Regions from separate parts of the Homo sapiens genome. Here region 1 is linked to region 2. The links are contacts of gene promoters, found by promoter capture Hi-C in blood cells and fetal thymus (Javierre and others, 2016). All regions are on one chromosome and are shown on one strand. Each heading gives the region's core, a stretch centred on a gene start or on the middle of the fragment in contact. The rest is flanking DNA. Distances are from core to core; before and after follow the strand shown. Region 1 overlaps INSR (insulin receptor). Region 2 holds the start of NDUFA7 (NADH:ubiquinone oxidoreductase subunit A7).

Region 1 (5,637 bases), core at 1,500-3,999, 1.1 Mb before region 2:
ACTACAGGCGTACACCACCATGCTTGGCTAATTTTTGTATATGTATATATACATTTGGTAGAGATGAGGTCTCACAATATTGCCCAGGCTGGTCTTGAACTCCTAGGCTCAAGAGATCCGCTCTCCCCGAGCTCCCAAACTGGGCATAGGCGTAAGCCACAATGCCCAGCCAGGAAATACATTTTTCAAAAGCCTCTGCTAGACAGTAAACAATGTTATTGATCAGTTACATGATTCTACTCCCAAATATTCTAATAATGACAGGCATCGGTGAGAGCTTTTACAAAGGTTCTCTTAAAATCATCTTTGTTGGCTGGGCATGGTGGCTCACGCCTGTAATCCCAGCACTTTGGGAGGCTGATGCAGGAAGATCACTTGAGGTCAGGAGTTCGAGACCAGCCTGGCCAACATGGTGAAACACTCTCTATTCAAAATACAAAAATTAGCTGGGCGTGGTGGTAGGCACCTATAATCCCAGCTACTTGGGAGGCTGAGGCAGGAGAATTGCTTGAACCCAGGAGGCAGTCGTTGCAGTCAGCCAAGATCGTGCCACTGCACTCCAGCCTGGACGACAGAATGAGACTTCATCTCAAAAAAAGAAAAAAAAATTATCTTTGCCTTATTACAAAATCAATATGGGGCTCAGGGGTGAAGTGTGGAGTGTGTTTTAATAATAGCTTTGCTTTTTTTTTTTTTTTTTTTTTTGAGACAAAATCTCTTTCTGTCACCCAGGCTGGAGTGCAGTGGTGCAATCTTGGCTCACTGTAACCCCCATGTCCTGGGTTCAAGCGATTCTCCTGCCTCAGCCTCCTGAGTAGCTGGGATTACAGGCACACGCCACCACACCAACTGATTTTTTTTTTTTTTTTTTTTTTAGTGGAGAAGCGGTTTCACCATGTTGGCCAGGCTGGTCTCAAACACGTGACCTCCGTCTGCCTTGGCCTCTTAAAGTGCTGGTACAGGTGTGAGCCACCGCGCCAGGCCAGCTTTGCTCTTTTATGGACTATTCAACAAATTGTTAGCATTTCTCTTTTTTCTTTTTTTCATTCAACAAACACATGTCGAATGTCCCAGTGTGCCAAATCATAGGAAACCTGTTCTCGTATTAAATGAAAAAGCATCAGAACATAGATGACACAAAAACCCCATCCCCTGTCCTCGAGACATCCAGGTTTAGCATTGTCCTCAGCCCCCAGCAGCATCCCCTCCTGCAGGGGGAAAAGAAAAGGAAAAAATCCCACAGTACTAGAAAATGGCAAGAGTAAATCTTGTTGTGGGAAACTTTTCATTCAGGTATATGCATGTCTTGGGTACTGAGCCTTACGGGAAATGTATTTCTTCTTAAAAATTCTAGTTAAAAATACTTCAAGTAACATTGCCCACAATAGTGGGACAAGGCAACAACACGTACTTCCCATTATGAGGCAATGAAAAAGACAAAATATTTGTGTAGCTTTCTTTCCATATATTACTAACCCTAGCTTGAGGTCATTCGATAAAATAACTGGCCTGTGCTCTTCAAAACTGCCAATGTTGGCCAGGTGTGGTGGCTAACACGTGTAATCCCAGCACTTTGGGAGGCTGAGGCAGGAAGATCACTGGAGATCAGGAGTTCGAGACCAGCCTGGCCAACATGGTGAAACCCTTTCTCTACTAAAAACACAAAAATTAGCTGGGTGTGGTGGCGCATGCCTGTAATCCCGGCTACTTGGGGGCTGAGGCAGGAGAATCACTTGAACCCAGGAGACAGAGGTTGCAGTCAGCCAAGATCTCACCACTGCACTCTAGCCTGGGTGACAGAGTAAGACTCCGCCTCAAAAAAAAATAAAAATAAATAAATAAATAAATAAATAAAAGCCAATGTTGGGAAAGACACAGAAAACTGAGGAATTGTGCGGACTTAAGAGACAGCAGCATTCAAATGCAAAGTGTGATCCTAGATTGGAACCTTCGCCTAGGAAAAAAAATCTATATAGGGCAATATTGAGACAACAGATAAGATTATAGAAGACATTGGATTAAAATACTGTATCAATGTTAATTTCCTGATTTTGACAACGGCACCAGTACCATCATTATGTAAGAGAACTTTCTTTCTTTTCTTTCTTTTTTTTTTTTTTTTTGTTTGAGACGGAGTTTCGCTCTTGTTGCCCAGGCTGGAGTGCAATGGCACCATCTCGGCTCACTGCAACCTCTGCCTCCCAGGTTCAAGCGAACCTCCTGCCTCAGCCTCCCGAGTAGCTGGGATTACAGGCATGTGCCACCACGCCTGGCTAATTTTGTATTTTTAGTAGAGACGGGGCTTCTCCAAGTTGGTCAGGCTGGTCTCGAACTCCTGACCTCAGGTGATCCGCCCGCCTCAGCTTCCCAAAGTGCTGGGATTACAGGCATGAGCCACCACGCCTGGCCTCAGAACTTTCTTGTTCTTAGGAAATATCCACTGAAGAATTAAGGAGTATGTATCATGCCTGCAACTAACTCTCAAATAGTTCAGGGGAAAAAAATGTATATAATGTGTGTGCATAAATATATTAGAAAGGTAATAAAACAAGTAGAATAAAACGTAAACAATTGATTGATCTAGATATAATCTTGCAATTTTTCCGTAAGCTTGAAACGACATCAAAACAAAAAGCGACCAATTTGTCCAAAGCAAGGTTAAAAGCCAGAGAAATAGGAGACGCAGCGCTGCATTGTTAAATGACTTGCGCACAAAAATCCAGTCACTCTGACACTTTTTTGTTTGCCTCCCTTTTAAAGTTCAAATTAGTTTGGGTTTTTCTTAATTAAGAAGGTATGTGATAAAAAACAAAACAGAAAATACAGAAACCACCATTAAATGATTCGATAGCTCCACATATGTTAATAACATTTTGTTACATTCTTTCCAAAGCTTAAAACTTTCCGAAGTTTAAAAAAAACTTAAAAAAAAAAAGTTTAAAAACCTTTCCAAAGTTTAAAAAAAAAATACTCAAGATTTATGATTCCAAAAATTACTGCTTTCCAGAAATTTCCAAACGGAACAGTTGCGTCATGGGCCTGCTGGTACATTGACCACAGGGCCCCGCGGCTCTCCCTATAAGTGTGAGTTTTATAAACTCCTTAAAGTAATTTATTTTGTTTCCATTCAAGGCCTTTCTCTCCCACACTGGCCCCAGACCCTGACCTCAGAGGTTCGAGTCCCCGGAGCCAAATTCCTCTAGTTGGAATCTAGTAAATGATTTAATGGCAAAGGGGCAGGGGTTGGGGGCAGCCAAGGAGGTGAACTTTTGACAGCTTCGTGGTCAGCAGCGACGACCGCAGGAGCGCGTGTCCTTGAAGCGGGGAAGCGCCCCTTTTCCTTGCCTGACAATACCGCCCCACACGCGATGACGCCTTTGGAATAGAACTGCGCAGCTCTTTGGAGACATACGGCGCATATAGAGGCTAGAAAGGGAACAGAGTACCAGAGGGCCTTCCCGCTTCGGGAGCCGCAGGCTTCTTCTCTTCGGAGAGAGAGTGAGTGAGTGAGTAAGCGAGTGAGTGAGTGAGTGGGGAGGGAGTGAGTCCGTCCACGGGGGCGGGCCCTCTCCATGCTGCGGATCTCTTAGGAGATATACTGCGCACGCAGAGGCCCGGAAGGAGGCGGGGTCCCAGGGGTCTCCTCGCTAGAGCAGCCCCAGGATTGGCAGGTTCCAGAGTGGGAGTGGGGGTGTGTGTGTGTGTGTGTGTGTGTGTGTGTCAGGTTCCAGAGTGGGAGTGTGTGTGTTTGGGTGTGTGTGTGTGTGTGTGTGTCAGATTCCAGAGTGGGAGTGTGTGTGTGTTTGGCAGGTTCCAGAGTGGGAGTGTGTGTGTGTGTTTGGCAGGTTCCAGAGTGGGAGTGTGTGTGTGTGTTTGGCAGGTTCCAGAGTGGGAGTGTGTGTGTGTGTGTGATTGGCAGGTTCCAGAGTGGGAGTGTGTGTGTGTGTGTGTGTGTGTCCCCAGGATTGGTCGGTTCCAGAGTGGGAGAGAGAGCGAGAGAGAGAGAGAACGAGAGAGAGAGAGAGAGAACGAGAGAGAGTGTGTGCGCGTGTGTGTCTGTGCAGCCCCAGGATTGGTCGGTTCCAGAGTGAGAGTGTGTGTGTGTGTGTGTGTGTGTGTGTGTCCCCATGGTGGGAGTGTGTGTGTGTCCCCATGGTGGGAGTGTGTGTGTGTCCATGGTGGGCGAGCGTGTGTGTGTGTCCATGATGGGCGTGTGTGTGTGTCTGCGTGTGTGCCCGTGTCTGCGTGTGTGCCCATGGGGGCGAGGGAGGGAGCCCTAGGCGCTCAAGGCTCCGCCCCCTCGAGCCGGAGGCCTCAGCGCAGCACAAAGCCCGGGGCGCACTCCGCTCCGGGGAATCCGGCCCCGGCGGTTGCGGCGGCCGCAGCGCCGCCCTCGCGCTCAGCCAATGGGCGGGCGTGCTGCAGGGGCGCTGGCCCCGCCCCCCGGGTGCGCCGGGCTCCGCTCCCCAGACTGGCGCTCGGGCAGTGGCCGCCGCCGGGCGGTCCCGGCCAGAGGAAAGGGCGCCCTGGGAGGGCCCCTCGTGGCTGCAGACCCCGCAGGTCGAGTCTGCCACGGATGGAACTTTGGAAAAAGCTAGGGAAAAGGAGAAACCGAGCTTGCAAGGGCTCATCAAGCATCCACCGGGGTGGCTTAGGCTGCGCGCGGCGCTGGGCGTGTGCCCGGGAGGAGATCGGGTCACCGCGTGGCAGCTCCCGGGACTGCCGAGGGGCCCCCTGACCCCAGGCCTCCCTCGGGAGGGGTCCAGAAAGGTGCAGCGGCTCACTAGGGTCACACAGCAAAATTCCTCACATTGCAGGGGGGGAGGGTCCGCATCTCCGAACTCGCCGGGCCAGTGCACCCTCTATTCTCACCCACCACTCACCCAGAAAACGAGAACCATACTCATAAATACATTCTTAAAATCCACAGGCTACGTTTTTGGGGTAACCTCCAGCCAGTATTCCGCATGCATTTGAAAACTTGTGTGTCCCCATTGAATTTGCAGTTCCAGTAAACCAAGGCAGCGAGTGGACATTCTCATTTAACATTCACCCCCATAAATACACTTTTTTTGGGGGGGGGGTCTCACTCTGTCGCCTCAGGCTGGAGTGCAGTGGTGTGATCATCGCCCACTGCAGCCTCAAACTCCTGGGCTCAAGCCATCCTCCCACCTCAGCCTCCCGAGTAGCTGGGACTACAGGCGTGCATCACTATGCCTGGCTAATTTTTTCTATTTTTTTGTAGACATGGGGACTCGTTGCCCAGGCTGGTTTAGAACTCCTGGCCTCAAGTGATCCTCTTGCCTCAGTCTACCAAAGTGTTGGGATTACAGGCATGAATACACTTTAAAGTGTGTAATCTGTTTGCAGCACACACGGTCCAATCCATCAATGAGGTCATATTAACTCAATTATTCAAGCAATCATCACCATTAGAATTGGAGAAACCGAGGCATAGAGGGGCTACTTTGCCAATAACCAGCTCTGCCAGAACTCGAATCCAGGTCTCCCAGAGAGACCAGGAGAGGGTGTGGTATGGAGTTTGGGGGAGTGGGAGTTTGTTTGATTTTTTAAATTTGTTTGTTTGTTTGAAACAGGGTCTTACTCTGTGGCCCAGGCTGGAGTGCAATGGAGCCA
Region 2 (5,574 bases), core at 942-3,441:
TGATCTTTGATCTTTGCAGCAAACTACCATGGCACGTTTACCTTTGTAACAAAACTGCAAATGTACCCCAGAACTTAACGTTAAAGTTGAAAACAAGCCGGGCGCAGTGGCTCACACCTGTAATCCCAGCACTTTGGGAGGCCGAGGCAGGCGGATTATGAAGTCAGGAGTTCGAGACCAGACTGGCCAACATGGTGAAACCCCGTTTCTACTAAAAATACAAAAAATTAGTCAGGCGTGGTGGCACATGCCTGTAATCCCAGCTACTTGGGAGGCTGAGGCAGGAGAATCGCTTGAACCCGGGAGATGGAGATTGCAGTGAGCTGAGATTGTGCCATTGCACTCCAGCCTGGGCAATAAGAGCAAAACTCCGTCTCAAAAAAAAAAAAAAAAAAAAGTTGAAAACAAAGTTTGATACTTCTAATATTTGGAATTAGTCACAACATATAGGCATTTACATAAATTTCATTATTTTAATGCTATTTTTCTTCCTTTCATTATAATCCTCAATGACTGCCTTACCTCTGCCTACCCTTTGACTTCATAGATTATACCATTATCCCTTTCCCTCAATGGGTTCCATCCATACTGGCCTCCTTCCACTCAGGCTCTGTCCAGCCTGACACTCTTAGCCCTTCCTGTTCCCTCTGCTCAGAATGTTTTTTCTTTTTTATTTTTTTGAGACAGAGTGTTGTTCTGTCACCCAGGCTGGAGTGCAGTGGTGCGATCTCAGCTCACTGCAATATCCACCTCCTGTGTTCAAGCGATTCTCCTGCCTCAACCTCCCGAGTAGCTGGGACTACCCGCGCGCGCCACCACGCCCGGCTAATTTTTGTATTTCTAGTAGAGAGGGGGTTTTACTGTGTTTCACTGTGTTGGCCAGGCTGGTCTCAAACTCCTGACCTCGTGATCCGCCTGCCTCAGCCTCCCCAAGTGCTGGGATCACAAGCGTGAGCCACCGCGCCCGGTCAGAATGTTTTTTCAATAATTATTCTTTGAATGGGTCCTTCCCATCATTCAGGGGACTCAACTGTCAATTTCCAAAGAAAGATCTTTCCCAATCATCTGACTTTACGTAGCCACCCTCCAGCTTCCACTTATTTTGTTTTGTCTTCAAAGCATTCCAGAACAATACTACCTGCTGTGTTTGTTTCCCTACTATGCTTCTCCCTAGAATGTGGCGTCCATGAAAGAATGTGGATAAGAACTTTCCTGGTTCACAAAGTTAAACCCAAGGCTGAGGTCATACATGACGGGGGCTTGTAAATATCAACTAATATTTTAATATAAATGAGTCTGAAATCAGGACACTTCTGGGTTCAAGTCCCCGCTGCCACTTTTTAGCTTCTGAGTGACTTGAGGCAAATGATTTCGCCTCTCTGGACCTCTTTTTTCATCTGTAGCTTGGGGATAACACTGACTAACATGGCCACGCTGAGCACTGCAAATCTAGCCTGATTGCCAGTCAGAATGCACGCCCGGCCTCGCTGTTTCAGGAGGGCTGTCCTCCGGAGTTCAGCAAGGTTAAAGGCAAACCTCTGCCTCCACAGCCTGGCAGGGGACTGGTGGCAGGATGTCAGCCCTCCGTTTCAGGGGTCTAAAGGAACACAGATTTCGTTTTTGGTGGAGAAAGGACAGAGCCAGAGGCTGGGCAGCGAGCGGGGCCTGCTCACCGCTTGGAGATCTCCTGGTAGCGTAGCTGCAGCTTCCCCTGCAGGTCATGCTGTGGGAAGAGGAGAGGAGAGGTCGGCCTGCAAGGCACCCCAGGAGAGAGGAAAGGAGAGGGCAAGGGACCAGGGATGGTCCGGGGATGCGCATTTTAAGGGAAGGCAGGGGATGAACACTCGGGGAAACGGATGTGGGTCCTGCAGGTGAAGAGCAAAGCCAGAGTCCGGGCCCACAGATCCAAGGCTAAGAAGGTCGGGGACTGGGGAAATCCCAGGCCTGAGTGGTTCCCAGGCCAGGAGAGGGTCCCGGGCTGAAGGGGTGACTAGCTGGGGGTTCCCAGGGAGATTCGGGGAGAGCGAAGGGTCCCGGCTTAGGAGGGAGGTGAGGAGCAGGAGCGGGTCCCGGACACACGGAGCCCGAAGCCCCCCATGGTGCAGCCCTGTCCGCCCCGCGCACCCCGGACGCCCAGTTCCGCAGCCGCTGGATGAGACGGGTGGCGGACGCCATCTTCCGTCCGCGATACTGAAGGGCGCAGCCGGTGACGTCTCCACCGCTGGGGCTGCTGGGAAAGACGCGGCGTGGTATCGCGAGACGGGAGTGGGCGGTGCTAGAACGTCCTATAAAGGCTCTCCCCGAAGCACGTGACTCCTCTCCGCCAGACCGCCGCCGCGCCGCCATCATGGACACCAGCCGTGTGCAGCCTATCAAGCTGGCCAGGGTGAGGTGGGGGCCCGAATTTGGGGGCAGGGGGAGGGATTAGAGGAGCCAAACGGGCCGGGTCTGAACCCAGCTTCTTTCCTCCAGGTCACCAAGGTCCTGGGCAGGACCGGTTCTCAGGGACAGTGCACGCAGGTAATCGGGTGGGGGCATTTGGCCGACTGCCGGCGACCTAAACCCTGATGTGACCTCTACCCTGCCCTAACCCCTGCCAGCCGGAATCCGGGAGCCGATTCTCATTTCATCACGGGGTTCTGATGGTTCCCTTTAACGATCTGTATTCTGGCCCCGACACGTTCTCTGAATTCATATCTGCTTCCCACTCCGCGGTGCCTTTCCGCGGCCCGCCCTTACTTCTTCCTCCACTCCGGTGGGGACCCGTAGGTGCGCGTGGAATTCATGGACGACACGAGCCGATCCATCATCCGCAATGTAAAAGGCCCCGTGCGCGAGGGCGACGTGCTCACCCTTTTGGAGTCAGAGCGAGAAGCCCGGAGGTTGCGCTGAGCTTGGCTGCTCGCTGGTGGGTGCAAAGAGGACACCCCTTTGATAGACCTTTGGTTGGTGGTAGGGAGGCTTCGTTAAGCCCAGGGTGAGAGGGTTTGGGAGGCAGAGTCTACATACAGAGACTGACAAGAGGGAGGCGGGAGTTTGCCAATTGCTGCGGGGCCTGTCAACATCTCATGTTTGGGTCTGTTTACAGGGTCTTGGATGTCGGGTTCGACCACTTGGCCGATGGGAATGGTCTGTCACAGTCTGCTCCTTTTTTTTGTCCGCCACACGTAACTGAGATGCTCCTTTAAATAAAGCGTTTGTGTTTCAAGTTAACTCAGGTTCTTGTCTGGGTTATACGACTAGGGTTTCTCCAGGTTTCTTGAGTGGCTCCCAGGCGGTCACCGATCCTCCGCACTCTGGAAATCCTGGCCGTGCGGTCTTGCCAAACGAAGCTTTTCCTTTTTGAGGCGGGGGGTCGTGTTTGTCGATTGCACCCTCTACCCCAAACAAAACACAAGCGTAGTAGGAATGTTTTATTAGCAAAGAAGTTTCAGAGAGTGGGTGGATCAGGGCTCTATCACTTGGTCCCCACCTCACCTTGGTGGGGCCAGAGTGAGCCCCTTCCTGCCACAGTCACCCCAACTGAAATTGCCTTTCTCTTCGGCCAGTGTTAGCCTCTGAGCAGGGGACCCTGGACCCTTCTGTGCGCCAAAGGCTGAGGTGACTGACGAGGAGATCTCCCCACAGCTAGGTGTAGTGAGCCAGACGAGGCAGCTTACTGAACCTGGGGGTTCTCTCCATTGTCACCGCATTCTCCTTCACCAGGTGTGGCTGTCTGGGAGCCAGGGGGTGACTCGCTCTGGAGAGAGGGGAAAAGAGGGGGGCCTGCTGCAATCTCCTTGAGGCAGGAAACGTGGGATTCAGCCCCAGCCTCACTTAGTGGAGGTTCTTTTACCATGGACCCAGGCTGCCTGGTTTGTATCCAACCTCTGCCCCTTCTGACCTGGAAGAGGCGCTTGACCTTCCTCCCACATCCCTTCCAGTGGGGTGAGTACAGGTGTTCCTCAGTTTACAATGGGTTACATTCCGGTGAGTACATCATAGGTTGAAAGTATTGCAAGTTGAAATGTGTTTAATACACCTAATCTCCCAAACATCACAGCTTAGCATGGTCCATCTTAAGCTTGTTCAGAACGCCTTAGCCTGTAGTTGGGGAAACTCGTCTAACACGAAGCCTGTTTTAATAAAGTATTGAATGTCTTATGTAATTTATTGAATACTCTGCTGAAGTGTGGTTTTTACTAAGCACACATTGCTTTTATGCTATCATGAAGTCAAAAAATTGTAAGTTGTGCCAGGCGCGATGGCTCACAGCTGTTGTAATCCCAGCTACTTGGGAGGCTGAGGCAGGAGAATTTCTTGAACCTGGGAGGTGGAGGTTGCAGTGAACTGAGATTGTGCCGCTGCACTCCAGCCTGGGTGACAGAACGAGACTCTTGTCTTCAAATGAAAAAAAAAAATTAGCTGGGCATGGTAGCACGTGCCTGTAGTCCCAACTACTTGAGAGGCTGAGGCAGAAGAATCGCTTGAACCCCAGAGGTGGAGGTTGCAGTGAGCTGCAGTCGCCCCACTGCACTCTAGCCTCGGTGACAGAGGAAGACTCCATCTCAAAAATAAATAAAAAATGGTAAGTGGAGCCATGGTAAATTGGGGTCAACCTGTACAGGATGAGTGGGCTGATTAGATAACTTGGATTATGAAAGTGCTAAAACATCCTGGCACTTGGCCATCAGAGTATAGTGGTGTTGGGGGTTAATGTGTTCTGCAAACTCACCCAGTCTCCAGTTCTGAAGCTCTGGACCCCCTTCCCCACCCTGCCTGATGCCAAAGGGCTCCTTTTTCCTTTGATAAGAGCCTCCCTGGCAGTAGGTAACAGGAGCCCAGGGGCATGCATGAAAGGTCTTAGCTAGGTCTCTGTGACCTTAGGTTACTTCCCCCCTTGAGGACTCAGTCTCATGACCTGGGGTAGTGTCAACCTCACTGGGGTTTTGCTGCTTTCACATCAAATCCCAGCCCCTGCCAGGCGCTCTGGTTTCACACCTGTAATCCCAGCACTTGAGGATGCTGAGGCAGAAGGATCCCTTGAGCTCAGGAGTTTGTGGCTGCAGTGAGCTCTGATCACACCACTACACCCCAACCCGGGTTACAGAGTGAGACCCTGTCTCCCAAAAAAGAAAAGCAGCCACATAGGAGAATCCAGACACTGGTTCTGCACCCCTGGTGCCACCTTTGGGGAGCAGAAAGGGAGGCTCAGGGCATATTTACTATCCTCTGCAAACTGAATTTGCAGCTGGGAAAGTTTGTTTCTTCCAGAGCTGTGCTCACCTGGGTGTCGGGCTGGCCCGAGCTCAGGTGGGCATGTAGCAGAGCGGCCACCTCATCCTGCTCAGCCTCCAGGGCGATGGCCAGGGCACTGGTGCCCTCCTGTGGAACGTTAGGGACAGTCAGATCCCTGAGCCAAGCCATGGGCACCCCCCAAGATGCCAGCCCCATTGTGGGGTCTTACATTGTCCAGGATGGCAGGGTCACAGCCTGGCTGGGTGAGCAGCAGCCGCACGGTGTCCAGGCGCCCATACTCACTGGCACACATCAGCGCTGTGGCCCCATCCGCATCCTGCGCATTCACATCAGCCC

The links. The method cuts DNA at HindIII sites, captures the fragments that hold promoters and counts their contacts. A CHiCAGO score of 5 or more calls a contact.
Region 1: a contact is called between a fragment that was not itself captured here and the fragment with the promoter of NDUFA7 in region 2, in 1 of 17 cell types (total B cells). The highest score is 7.0, in total B cells.

Annotation. Positions count from the first base shown.
Region 1 is chr19:7,193,826-7,199,462 of GRCh38, forward strand. All of the region lies in intron 2 of INSR (insulin receptor), which reads right to left. Among named protein-coding and RNA genes, the nearest start is that of INSR, 98 kb to the right of the region's middle. RefSeq lists enhancers at 3,511-3,710, 3,523-4,359 and a silencer at 4,191-4,820. The HindIII fragment of the contact is 283 bases long and covers 2,609-2,891 here.
Region 2 is chr19:8,319,184-8,324,757 of GRCh38, forward strand. It overlaps NDUFA7 (NADH:ubiquinone oxidoreductase subunit A7), which reads right to left and starts at 2,192. Exons shown (of 4, transcript NM_005001.5): 1 at 2,125-2,192; 2 at 1,674-1,723. The coding sequence starts at 2,175. It overlaps RPS28 (ribosomal protein S28), which reads left to right and starts at 2,313. Exons shown (of 4, transcript NM_001031.5): 1 at 2,313-2,386; 2 at 2,473-2,520; 3 at 2,770-2,908; 4 at 3,089-4,157. The coding sequence starts at 2,348. The coding sequence ends at 2,892. It overlaps KANK3 (KN motif and ankyrin repeat domains 3), which reads right to left. Exons shown (of 11, transcript NM_198471.3): 9 at 5,447-5,574; 10 at 5,266-5,364; 11 at 3,401-3,739. The coding sequence ends at 3,656. RefSeq lists enhancers at 312-1,279, 1,280-2,247, 2,102-2,341, 2,248-3,215, 3,216-4,181. The HindIII fragment of the contact is 9,773 bases long and covers 1-3,330 here.